2 separate regions of the Homo sapiens genome follow, and region 2 is linked to region 1. The links are contacts of gene promoters, found by promoter capture Hi-C in blood cells and fetal thymus (Javierre and others, 2016). All regions are on one chromosome and are shown on one strand. Each heading gives the region's core, a stretch centred on a gene start or on the middle of the fragment in contact. The rest is flanking DNA. Distances are from core to core; before and after follow the strand shown.

Evidence for each region. The method cuts DNA at HindIII sites, captures the fragments that hold promoters and counts their contacts. A CHiCAGO score of 5 or more calls a contact.
Region 2: the fragment with the promoter of ENTPD8 here is called in contact with the fragment with the promoter of LRRC26 in region 1 in 5 of 17 cell types (endothelial precursors, non-activated CD4 T cells, naive B cells and 2 more); the score reaches 7.1 in endothelial precursors.

The regions. Positions count from the first base shown.
Region 1 is chr9:137,167,497-137,173,934 of GRCh38, reverse strand. It overlaps LRRC26 (leucine rich repeat containing 26), which reads left to right and starts at 3,884. Exons shown (of 2, transcript NM_001013653.3): 1 at 3,884-4,664; 2 at 4,750-5,177. The coding sequence starts at 3,992. The coding sequence ends at 5,081. It overlaps TMEM210 (transmembrane protein 210), which reads left to right and starts at 1,879. Exons shown (of 4, transcript NM_001282477.2): 1 at 1,879-1,995; 2 at 2,159-2,294; 3 at 2,492-2,521; 4 at 2,771-3,077. The coding sequence starts at 1,908. The coding sequence ends at 2,960. MIR3621 (microRNA 3621) reads left to right here and starts at 4,665; the gene lies at 4,665-4,749. It overlaps GRIN1 (glutamate ionotropic receptor NMDA type subunit 1), which reads right to left. Exons shown (of 20, transcript NM_007327.4): 20 at 5,179-6,438. The coding sequence ends at 6,408. It also overlaps LOC124902315. RefSeq lists silencers at 4,172-4,231, 4,392-4,911, 5,152-5,261, 5,492-5,611 and an enhancer at 5,381-6,245. The HindIII fragment of the contact is 2,046 bases long and covers 3,067-5,112 here.
Region 2 is chr9:137,438,304-137,442,606 of GRCh38, reverse strand. ENTPD8 (ectonucleoside triphosphate diphosphohydrolase 8) reads left to right here and starts at 1,250. Exons shown (of 10, transcript NM_001033113.2): 1 at 1,250-1,321; 2 at 4,302-4,303. RefSeq lists a silencer at 1,096-1,390. The HindIII fragment of the contact is 13,084 bases long and covers 429-4,303 here.

The sequences.
Region 1 (6,438 bases), core at 2,635-5,134:
TGTGAGCTGCGCCTGGTTTCAGTGCTCCCACCGCTGTCCCCAGATGCCCTTGCTGGTTCCCACATGTCCACGGTCCTGGGCTCCTGCAGCCGCCGCCCAGCACCCTCCCACCTCTCCAGCTCTGGCCTGATGCCCTTGCTGGTCCCATGTCCATTGTCGTGGGTTCCTGCAGCTGCCGCCCAGCACCCTCCCACCTCTCCAGCTCTGGCCTGTTTGAGCCGTCCCGTTCAGTGGACATTCCTGCACCCTCCTTGCTCTGGAGAACTCTTGTTTGCCTCAGGGCTTGAAGGAGGAAGTGGCCGGGATTAGGCAGGCGCCAGATGCACAGCCTGTGCCCATCAGGCCTCTGCCCCGCCAAGGAGGGCTGCTTCCGCCTGTGCGGTATCTCCCCTCTAGCCCTGGGCCCTGCCACCTGCTCCACTTCACTCCAAGGCTGTCTGTGCTGCTGTCACAAAAAGAGGGACCCCTCTCCTGAATTCTGGTGGGATGGTCCCGATTGCTCTGATGCCCCCTCAGAGCAAGGTGGCCTTGCCTGGATCCCGCTGTCTGTGGCCACCACCTGGCCCCAGGCTGGGTGTGCCATTGTCCTAACCAGGATACAAACCTGCTGGGCTGGCCTGTCGAGTGTCACTGCCAGCCTGGCTCTGGTACACCTTTTGTTCTGTGTCCTGTGGATTCCATCTCTGGTTGTGTCCTGAAGACAAGGGCGAAGGGTGCATCTCGGGTCACGGTGTCACTCGGCAAGTCAGAGGTCGGAGGACCCCAGCAGGAGGGTGCCTGTCAACAGGCGAGGGGGTCCCTGGTGCCCAGGGCCACTGGGGCCAGACTGTGCCCACCCCCCCCACCCCCCGTGTCCCATGTGTCCTGAGCTGGCAGAAGGCCTGGCCTCCGTTGGCTGTGGGGCAGGTGTTTCCTTTTGCTGCCTGGCGGTTTGCTTGGCAGGTCCAGAGGAGGGGAGGCTGGGAGGGCAGGGGCCTCTCTCCCAGCCTGGAATAGCAGGTGCAGGGAGGAGGCTGAAAGCAACCCTGGCCATGCCGGCCTGCGGTCGACTTCCTTGGGCAACGCTTGTCTTTTCTGCAGAGGGGAAAGCTCCTGGGGGCTCCAACTTCAGTGACACCTTTAGTCTGGAGCCTTGGGGGATGTCTGGGAGGCAGGGCTTGGGGTCCTGCTCAGACAGGGGTGGCCAGTGTCCCCCAGACCTTTCCAAGTTGATGGGGGATTCCCTTGGGTGCCGGCAGCCCTTCTGACCTGAGCTTTGCCAGGGCGTGAGCCAGACCCTCCCAGAAGCAGTGGGGAGGGAGGATGGGTGCAAGCCCACCCCCTTAGCCCTCCTTGGCCCCTTCCTGCCCCAGCCCTGGAGGAAGGTGACCTACAGCCAGCTGGAGCCCAGCCCACATGCTGAGCTGCCGCAGCCCTTATGCTGGGAGGGAGCTGAGGCCGAGGCTGCCTGCCGCCCACCCTGCAAGGTTGCCAGGCCACCGCACCCACATCGGGGCCTGGAGTGCTGCCCACCCCCTTTCACTGTGAAGGATTTGGCTGGGCGCAGTGGCTCACACCTGTAATCCCAGCACTTTGAGAGGCCGAGGCGAGCGGATCACAAGGTCAGGAGATCGAGACCATCCTGGCTAACACGGTGAAACCACTGAAGGACTGCCCGTAAGACCAGGCCAGCCCCACTGCTGCCTCTGCCTCAGAGCTGGCCTGAGCTGGCTGGGCTCTCAGGCCTCTGCCCACCCTACCTGTCCCATTCCCAGAGCTGCTTGGCCATGGCTCCTTGAATTGCGGTGCCCAAGGGCAAATGACACACTGGCATTGTGAGCCCCCCCACCCCCACCTCACAGTCCTACTGTGAAGTCAGCACCTTCCAACAGTTCCGTCAGAGGTGTGCAGTGGGGCCAGGGCTGGACATGGCCCCCGGTCCCTGGCCTGTGTCCTGCCTGCGTGGTGGCCCCTTGGGCCTCACATATTTGTCCCTTCTGCTCATCCCTGCTGCAGGTGCCTCCTCCTGCCCCCGCACTCCACTCCCAGCCATGGCTCCCCTTCCCCAGGCAAGGTGGGAGCTCTGGTGTCCTTCTGGTGGCTACCAGGGCAGGGGCAGACTTGGGGGCCCTCTGCAGGCAGGTGACCGGCCCATGGCCATGTGGCCCTGTCTCTGCAGCTGGAACCTACTGTGAATGCAGCCTTGGCCTCAGCCGCGAGGCCCTCATCGCCCTCCTTGTGGTGCTGGCGGGCATCAGTGCCAGCTGCTTCTGTGCCCTCGTCATCGTGGCAATTGGTGTCTTGCGGGCCAAGGGGTGCGTGAACCCTGGGGCCGGGAGAGGATGGGAGTGAGGCCAGGCTGGCTGCCCTGGGCCCTTGGTCTTGCAAGAAGGGCTTTACCCCCTGGGTGGGCTGTCACCTGGGGTAGGAATGGCGTTTCCTAGGCGTGTGCTGGGGGAGCTCCGGGGGCCCAGCACTGTTCCAGGACTCATGTTGGCCTTCGTCCCCTCAGTGAAACATGCCCGAGACAAGTGGACAACAGGTGAGCACCAGGGAGGCCCTCGAGGGAGGCACGCTGTCTCAGGGGAGGCCCTTGGCGGGGGGAGCTATCCCAGGGGAGTCCCTGGAGGAGGAGGGGTGCTGTCCCTGGAGGAGGAGGGGTGCTGTCCCTGGAAGAGGAGGTGTGCTGTCCCAAGGGAGGCCCTTTGTGGGGGTGCACTGTCCCAGACGCCAGCCTGTCCTGGGGGAACAAGGACTCTACCAGCTCGTGATGACCCGGCCCGTCATGCAGGTTGGTGGAGAATTTTGGGGTCCAGGAAGATCTCATGGACCTGCACCCGGTTTACGTGGAGTCCCAGCTAATGGACGCTGACCTGGAGGTCTCCCTGGTGCCACCACTAGAGGATCAGAGCCTTGTGGCCATCCCCATGGAGGCTTCTTCAGAGGAGCCGCCACCACCCCCGCCCCTACCACCTGAGTAGAGGGCTGAGGGCAGCTGGGGGAGGGGAATTAAAGCGTATTTAGTGGCTGTGCACTGTCCTCCCTGCAGGCCCTCCTGAGGGCAGCTGGGGGAGGGGAATTAAAGCTTGTTTAGTGGTTGTGCACCGTCCTCCCTGCAGGCCCTCACACCCCTCACGGCTGCATCATGGGGGGTGCACGCGCATATGGGTCTCATCAAAGCAGAGTGCCCAGGCCCCACAGCAAGTTCCCCTGTTCCTCTGCCCCCTGGCAGTAAGCCATACCCCTAATGTTTCCACCTTCTCTGCCACAGCTGGTCAGCCCGGCTCCTTCCTGCACCCAGCTTTGGAAAGCCCCTAGAACAGGACCTGCAACTGGCAACTGTGAAGGGCGCTGGGTTTAACAGCAGGACTTGGGCTGATACCCCTGCCCCACTGCACTGGTCTGTACCTCTATCCCAGGAGAGTCCTGGGGGGGAGGGGTGGGGCAGGCACGCCTCTCCTGCCTCGGGTGTGCTGTCTCCCTCCACCCCAAGGCCTGTCTCCAACCCAGGCCCTATCCAGCATGGGAATGGGACCATCCCTGCGTGGGGGCCACTCCGCATGTGCACGTTGGGATCACTTTGCGGAGCCTGGGTGGGGTCGAGACGGGTGAGGAGCAGGACCTCTGGGTTGCATTGCGTGTGGGCGCCTGTTGCAGCCGTGAGCTGGGCGGGTGCAGGTGGGCGGTGTCCTGCTGCTCAGGTCAGGGCTCGGCGGGCGCCCGGTGGTGGACAAGGCGGGGTGAGGTGGTCTTGATAGCGCTGTGGCCGGCGCTGAGCCAAGAGTAGTTTGGAGCTCCCGGACAGGTGGCTGGCGGTGCCGGGCGTTGGCTGTTTGCCCTGCCCCCGCCCCAAGCGTGGATCCAGCCGTGGGACAGGAACTGCCTGAGCTCGGGCCAGAGAGTTAATATTTGTGCAGGCGCCGCAGGAACGGGCTCCGCGGACGACGGGCTCCAGGGACGCACAGGCAGCGGGCCTCCCACCGCGGGTGCCGGGGGCGGGGGGGCTGCCCCCATGCGGGGCCCTTCCTGGTCGCGGCCTCGGCCGCTGCTGCTGCTGTTGCTGCTGCTGTCGCCTTGGCCTGTCTGGGCCCAGGTGTCGGCCACGGCCTCGCCCTCGGGGTCCCTGGGCGCCCCGGACTGCCCCGAGGTGTGCACGTGCGTGCCGGGAGGCCTGGCCAGCTGCTCGGCACTCTCGCTGCCCGCCGTGCCCCCGGGCCTGAGCCTGCGCCTGCGCGCGCTGCTGCTGGACCACAACCGCGTCCGTGCGCTGCCGCCAGGTGCCTTCGCGGGAGCGGGCGCGCTACAGCGCCTGGACCTGCGCGAGAACGGGCTGCACTCGGTGCATGTGCGAGCCTTCTGGGGCCTGGGCGCGCTGCAGCTGCTGGACCTGAGCGCCAACCAGCTGGAAGCACTGGCACCAGGGACTTTCGCGCCGCTGCGCGCGCTGCGCAACCTCTCATTGGCCGGCAACCGGCTGGCGCGCCTGGAGCCCGCGGCGCTAGGCGCGCTCCCGCTGCTGCGCTCACTCAGCCTGCAGGACAACGAGCTGGCGGCACTCGCGCCGGGGCTGCTGGGCCGCCTGCCCGCTCTAGACGCGCTGCACCTGCGCGGCAACCCTTGGGGCTGCGGGTGCGCGCTGCGCCCGCTCTGCGCCTGGCTGCGCCGGCACCCGCTGCCCGCGTCAGGTGAGCTGCTGGGGACGCGGGTCGGGGTCTGCAGGGCGGTGCGGCAGCCGCCACCTGACGCCGCGCCTTTGTCTGTGTCCCACAGAGGCCGAGACGGTGCTCTGCGTGTGGCCGGGACGCCTGACGCTCAGCCCCCTGACTGCCTTTTCCGACGCCGCCTTTAGCCATTGCGCGCAGCCGCTCGCCCTGCGGGACCTGGCCGTGGTTTACACGCTCGGGCCGGCCTCCTTCCTCGTCAGCCTGGCTTCCTGCCTGGCGCTGGGCTCTGGGCTCACCGCCTGCCGTGCGCGCCGCCGCCGCCTCCGCACCGCCGCCCTCCGCCCGCCGAGACCGCCAGACCCGAACCCCGATCCCGACCCCCACGGCTGTGCCTCGCCCGCGGACCCGGGGAGCCCCGCCGCTGCCGCCCAAGCCTGAGCGGCCGCGGCCGCCTGGAGCGCTCGAAGCTTCCCCCATGCCTTTGCCCTCCCTTTACACTGTCTGCCGGCGTCAACAAGCGACACAGACCGAAAACTGCGTGACATTCCTTTAGGCATCACCACTGCATACACCGGGAGGTGGGGGTTGGGCGGTGCGCGCCTGCACCCTGGGGACGGAGGGGCAGAGCGCGGCTGCGCACGGGCCGCACGGGGAAGGCACGCGCTCGGGCCCTGGGAGTGCTGGTTCTGTACAAGGTGGCGGGCCGGTCACGCACCCGGAGCGAGGGCGGGGGCGGGCGGGTGGCGCTCTCCCGTGCCCAAGGTGCAGGGCAGGGTTGAAGACAGTCCCGAGCCAGCGTCCGGGGACCCCCGGGGAGGCCCGTTCTGGGCTGCAGGCCGGACGAGGAGAGGAGGGGCTCAGCCCTCTCGAGTCTGGAGGAGGCGGCCCGAGGCGGCGGGAGGCGCTGCCAGCTGGGAAGTCAGGGACGGCCGTGGGGGAGGGCAGGGCCAGCCCCGGCGTGTGGGGTCAAGGGGCAGACGGGGTGTGGGTGGGCGGTGCCGCAAGAAGAGGGGAGGGTGGAGCTCAGGCTGCAGAGGAGCGCAGGCGCCCGAGGAGGGGCGACCCAGCCAGCTGGGGCCATGGGCCCCACTGTGGCTCAGGCTGGTGCTGCGGGAAGGATGGGGCTGCCGTCTCTGCTCCAAGCCCCTCCGCCTGGGGCCAGTTAGCCCCCGCTCCCCACTGCTCAGAGACCCCAGGGCCCTGCCTCTGCCGGAGCGCCCTGCGGCCCTGCCCAGCCGACTCAGCTCTGCCCCGTCCTCAGCCGCTCCGGTCCGCACCTTGGTCCAGCAGGGGCTGCCCGCCAGGCAGCGGGGTGGGCGGGCGGACGGACGGGAGGCCCAGGGTGGGCAGTCTCTGGGGCGGGTGGGCTTCCCTCAGGCCTTCCCGAGCAGCAGGACCCATCAGTGTCCTTGGCCGGGCTAACTGGGCAGGTGGGCGCCTCCGGGGGCCTCACACCACGGTGCTGACCGAGGGATCTGAGAGGTTGAGCGGGCCCGTGATATCAGTGGGATGGTACTGCTGCAAAATAGAAATACACAGACAAGGCGCCCGTTAGCCCCACGCTGGGGGCACGCGCGGGGCCGGGACGGGGTGGACCGGCCAGCCGGCCAACCGGCGGGCGGGCAGGCGCAGCCTGGGGGAGGCTGGGGGTGCTCCTCCCCCGACCCCGTGGTGCTCCGGGGCTCTGCGTGGGCCGGGCCGCTGTCCCGTCCGTCTGTCTGTCTGTCTGCGGGGGAGGGGGCAGAGGAGGGCGGGCGGGGAGTCTCAGCTCTCCCTATGACGGGAACACAGCTGC
Region 2 (4,303 bases), core at 1-2,500, 270 kb before region 1:
TAGCCTGGGTGACAGAGCGAGACTCCATCTCAAAAAAAAAAAAAAAAAAGGACAACTTCCCAGACTCATTTTATAAGCCCAGCATTATCCCCATACAGAAACCAGGACTAAAAAAGAAAACTATGCAACTTTGTTGAACACAACTGCAAAAATCCTCAACAAACACATTTGACTCTTATGACCCATGGCAGCTAGTGTATAAAGTTGCTGCAAACACTGAATTAAAGAATATGCTAAACTATTGCTCCTAAGGGAAATGCAAAGTTCTGTTCCTGCAAGCTTCTGGTCACATTTTTGTTAAATGATCAATATATTAATAAAACCTTCTTTTATGTGTATTTTTGTTTAAGGGCACCTTACTTAATATGTATTGTATCACTAACATTGAACTCATGGCCAACAGCGCTAACTCTTGCACGAATGAAGCTTATCCAATGTGTGTTTTCTCTGTAAAGTGCATCTCAGCCTTCTTGCATTTCTGCACTATGCTGAGACGCCATTATAAACAGTGAAATCACCAAGAAAAAGCACAAAAATGCACACACATGACACCAAATATGCTACCAGTAAAGAGAGTCCCGATTGAGACCCCAAGAGGGTTCTTGGATCTCACACAGAAAGGAATTCACCGCCCCCCCGCATTCCCCCACCCTATTCCCCGCCCCCCAACACCCCCAGCCCCACCCAGCCCGGCCCTGGCTCCGCGCCTCCCCCAGCCCCGCCCCGCTTCAGAGGCCCGGACCCCGACGGCGGCGGCCCCGGGACCCACGGCGAGCGGGAAAGGCAGAGTGGCTGCAAATGGAAAACGACGGGCGCCGCGGGGCTGCAGGCGCTTCCGCCCCCGCCCCGGGCCTGGACCTTCGGGGTCACCTGACTCCGACCTGCCCGGGCCGGGCGGCACGGGGGGTAAAGTCCGGGCCGGGGTCAGGAGCGCGGCTGCGGGCCGTGGGGGGCGGGGTCCCGGAGTTCTGCCCCTCGCAGCTCCAGGCTCCTCCTCAGCTTCCCTCTCCTGCCTCCCACCCCCCCGGGGGCGGGGCGACCCTGGGCACCGAGACAGACCCGCGGGTGGGAGATGCGGGGAGACCCTGGGCGGGGGACCCGAGGGTGGAGTGGGCGGGGCGACCTTGGGCGCTGGCCTCAGCCTGCGGGCCCTGGAGCCAGGTGCACAGCGCATCGCCCGAGGCTGTCACCGCCCTGCCCCGCCCACCCCAGCTGTCCTGGACCCAGGGGCAGGGAGAGGCTGGACGCCAGGTGCGCGGACACAGAAGCGTCTAAGCACAGCTTCCTCCTTGCCGCTCCGGGAAGTGGGCAGCCAGCCCAGGTGAGGGTCCAAAGGGATGTCCTGGGGGGGCTGTCCTGGTCTGGGGGGCTGTCCTGGTCTGGGGGGCTGTCCTGGTCTGGGGGGCTGTCCTGGTCTGGGGGGGCTGTCCTGGTCTGGGGGGCTGTCCTGGTCTGGGGGGGCTGTCCTGGTCTGGGGGACTGTTCTGTCTGAGGGGGTGTCCTGGTCTGGGGGGGCTGTCCTGGTCTGGGGGGCTGTCCTGGTCTGGGGGGCTGTCCTGGTCTGGGGGGCTGTCCTGGTCTGGGGGGGCTGTCCTGGTCTGGGGGGCTGTCCTGGTCTGGGGGGGCTGTCCTGGTCTGGGGGACTGTTCTGTCTGAGGGGGTGTCCTGGTCTGGGGGGGCTGTCCTGGTCTGGGGGGCTGTCCTGGTCTGGGGGGCTGTCCTGGTCTGGGGGGGGCTGTCCTGGTCTGGGGGGCTGTCCTGGTCTGGGGGGGCTGTCCTGGTCTGGGGGGCTGTCCTGGTCTGGGGGGGCTGTCCTGGTCTGGGGGACTGTTCTGTCTGAGGGGGTGTCCTGGTCTGGGGGGGCTGTCCTGGTCTGGGGGGCTGTCCTGGTCTGGGGGGGCTGTCCTGGTCTGGGGGGGGCTGTCCTGGTCTGGGGGGCTGTCCTGGTCTGGGGGGGCTGTCCTGGTCTGGGGGGCTGTCCTGGTCTGGGGGGGCTGTCCTGGTCTGGGGGACTGTTCTGTCTGAGGGGGTGTCCTGGTCTGGGGGGCTCTCCTGGTCTGGGGGGGGCTGTCCTGGTCTGGGGGGCTGTCCTGGTCTGGGGGACTGTTCTGTCTGAGGGGGTGTCCTGGCCTGGGGGGCTCTCCTGGTCTGGGGGGGGGCTGTCCTGGTCTGGGGGGCTGTCCTGGTCTGGGGGGGGCTGTCCTGGTCTGGGGGCTGTCCTGGTCTGGGAATCTGTTCTGTGTGAGGGGGTGTCCTGGTCTGGGGGGCTCTCCTGGTCTGGGGGGGGCTGTCCTGGTCTGGCGGGGGCTGTCCTGGTCTGGGGGGCTGTCCTGGTCTGGGGGGCTGTCCTGATCTGGGAGTCTGTTCTGTGTGAGGGGGTGTCCTGGTCTGGGGGGGCTGTCCTGGTCTCAGGGACTGTTCTGTGTGAGGGGATGTCCTGGCCTGGGGGACTCTCCTGGTCTGGGGGGGCTGTCCTGGTCTGGGGGGGCTGTCCTGGTCTGGGGGGCTGTCCTGGTCTGGGGGGGCTGTCCTGGTCTGGGGGACTGTTCTGTCTGAGGGGGTGTCCTGGTCTGGGGGGCTCTCCTGGTCTGGGGGGGGCTGTCCTGGTCTGGGGGGCTGTCCTGGTCTGGGGGACTGTTCTGTCTGAGGGGGTGTCCTGGTCTGGGGGGCTCTCCTGGTCTGGGGGCACTGTCCTGGTCTCGGGGGGGCTGTTCTGGTCTGGGGGGCGCTTTCCTGGTCTGAGGAGCTGTTCTGATCTGGGAGGCTGTTCTGGTCTTGGGGGTCTTTTGAGTGTGGGAGAGGTTGCCCCAACCTCTTTGCCTACCTGGAGGCTCAGGCCTGGGGGTCTCAGGTGGCTACATCTTCTGGGTGTGGAGTCCCTGTGTTCCTGGCCCCTGTCACCTGTTTGTCCCTATGAGGTGGCCTATGGCCTGGGTGCTGGTTGGGGACACAGGCTGGGCCCTGTCTGGGCTGGACCGGCCTCCTGTCCTCTCTGAGCCTCTGTCATCTACCCTCCTTAAAATGGGCTTATATCCCCCGGACATACAGAATTGCGTGAGGACCCCACAGCGTGTCCCACTTTCCACGTGCCCAGGAGCCCCAGGTCAGGACCAGGGCAGCACCCGCGCCTGCCACTCAGTGTGGGTGCAACGTTTCCCGGGGGAACACGATAGGACACGGTCACATGGGGTTCAGGTGCCGGGACCTTGGCAGGCAGCCTCTGGCTTTGACCACTCCTTTGGCAGTGGTACCCGTGTGAAGTGGGGCTGTATGGGGCACAGGGTCGGCCTGGGGTAGTTTGAGAGCTGAGACCCTTGCTGGGCGTTTGGGCAGAGGAGGAGGTGGACACCTCGGCCACAGGGCTAGAGAAGCCCAGGCCCCTCAGATGGCATCCCTGGGTCCACCTCCCGACCAGGCGCCATCTGGCACCAGCTAAGAAGGTGCAGAGTCAGATTAGGGAAGCCTTGGGCTGGATTTCCAGAGAAACCGATGTTGTTAAGAAGCCTCACACTCGGCTTCCTAGGATGGCTGGCCTCACCCTGGGTTCACCCACAGCCCCTCGGCAACAGTCCCCTCAGGGCTCCAGAGAGAAACCCCCACCCTAGGAGTGCCTGGGGTGGGGGCCGCAGAGAGGAGGCAGAGCCCTGGGCCCCCAGTGCAGGCTGGAGCTGTGGCTGCTCCTGGGGAGGGTGGCACGGGAGAGGCAGGACCGAGGGGTGGGGACACAGGGTGGCCCCATCACATGGTGGGGGCAGCTCCGCGAGTCCCATCCGAGGGGGTCCGAGGGGGCTACTTGGATCCTGCTGGGGCTGTGTCCCCAGACGAGGCCTCTGCTGCCCCCCGCCCCCCTCCCACAGGGCCCTCTGATGCCCATGGCACCCCTGGCAGGCGTGGCTCCTGGGGAGTGGTCCTTGGCCACGGGAGGCGTCTGAGCCCCGGGGATGCCTCTATGGCCACGGGAGACCGTCTGAGCCCCGGGGATGCCTCTATGGCCACGGGAGGCCGTCTGAGCCCCGGGGATGCCTCTATGGCCACGGGAGGCCGTCTGAGCCCCGGAGATGCCTCTATGGCCACGGGAGGCCGCCTGAGCCCCGGAGATGCCTCTAAGGCCACGGGAGACCGTCTGAGCCCCGGGGATGCCTCTATGGCCACGGGAGGCGTCTGAGCCCCGGAGATGCCTCTAAGGCAAGTGGCTGTCCAGGGGTGCGTCTCCAGGGAGACGGGGAGCGAAGCCTCTGCCTCTGGAGGGCGGGATGGGGACACCAAGTGCAGCCTGGGTGCCCACGGCCGTCCCCCCACAGGA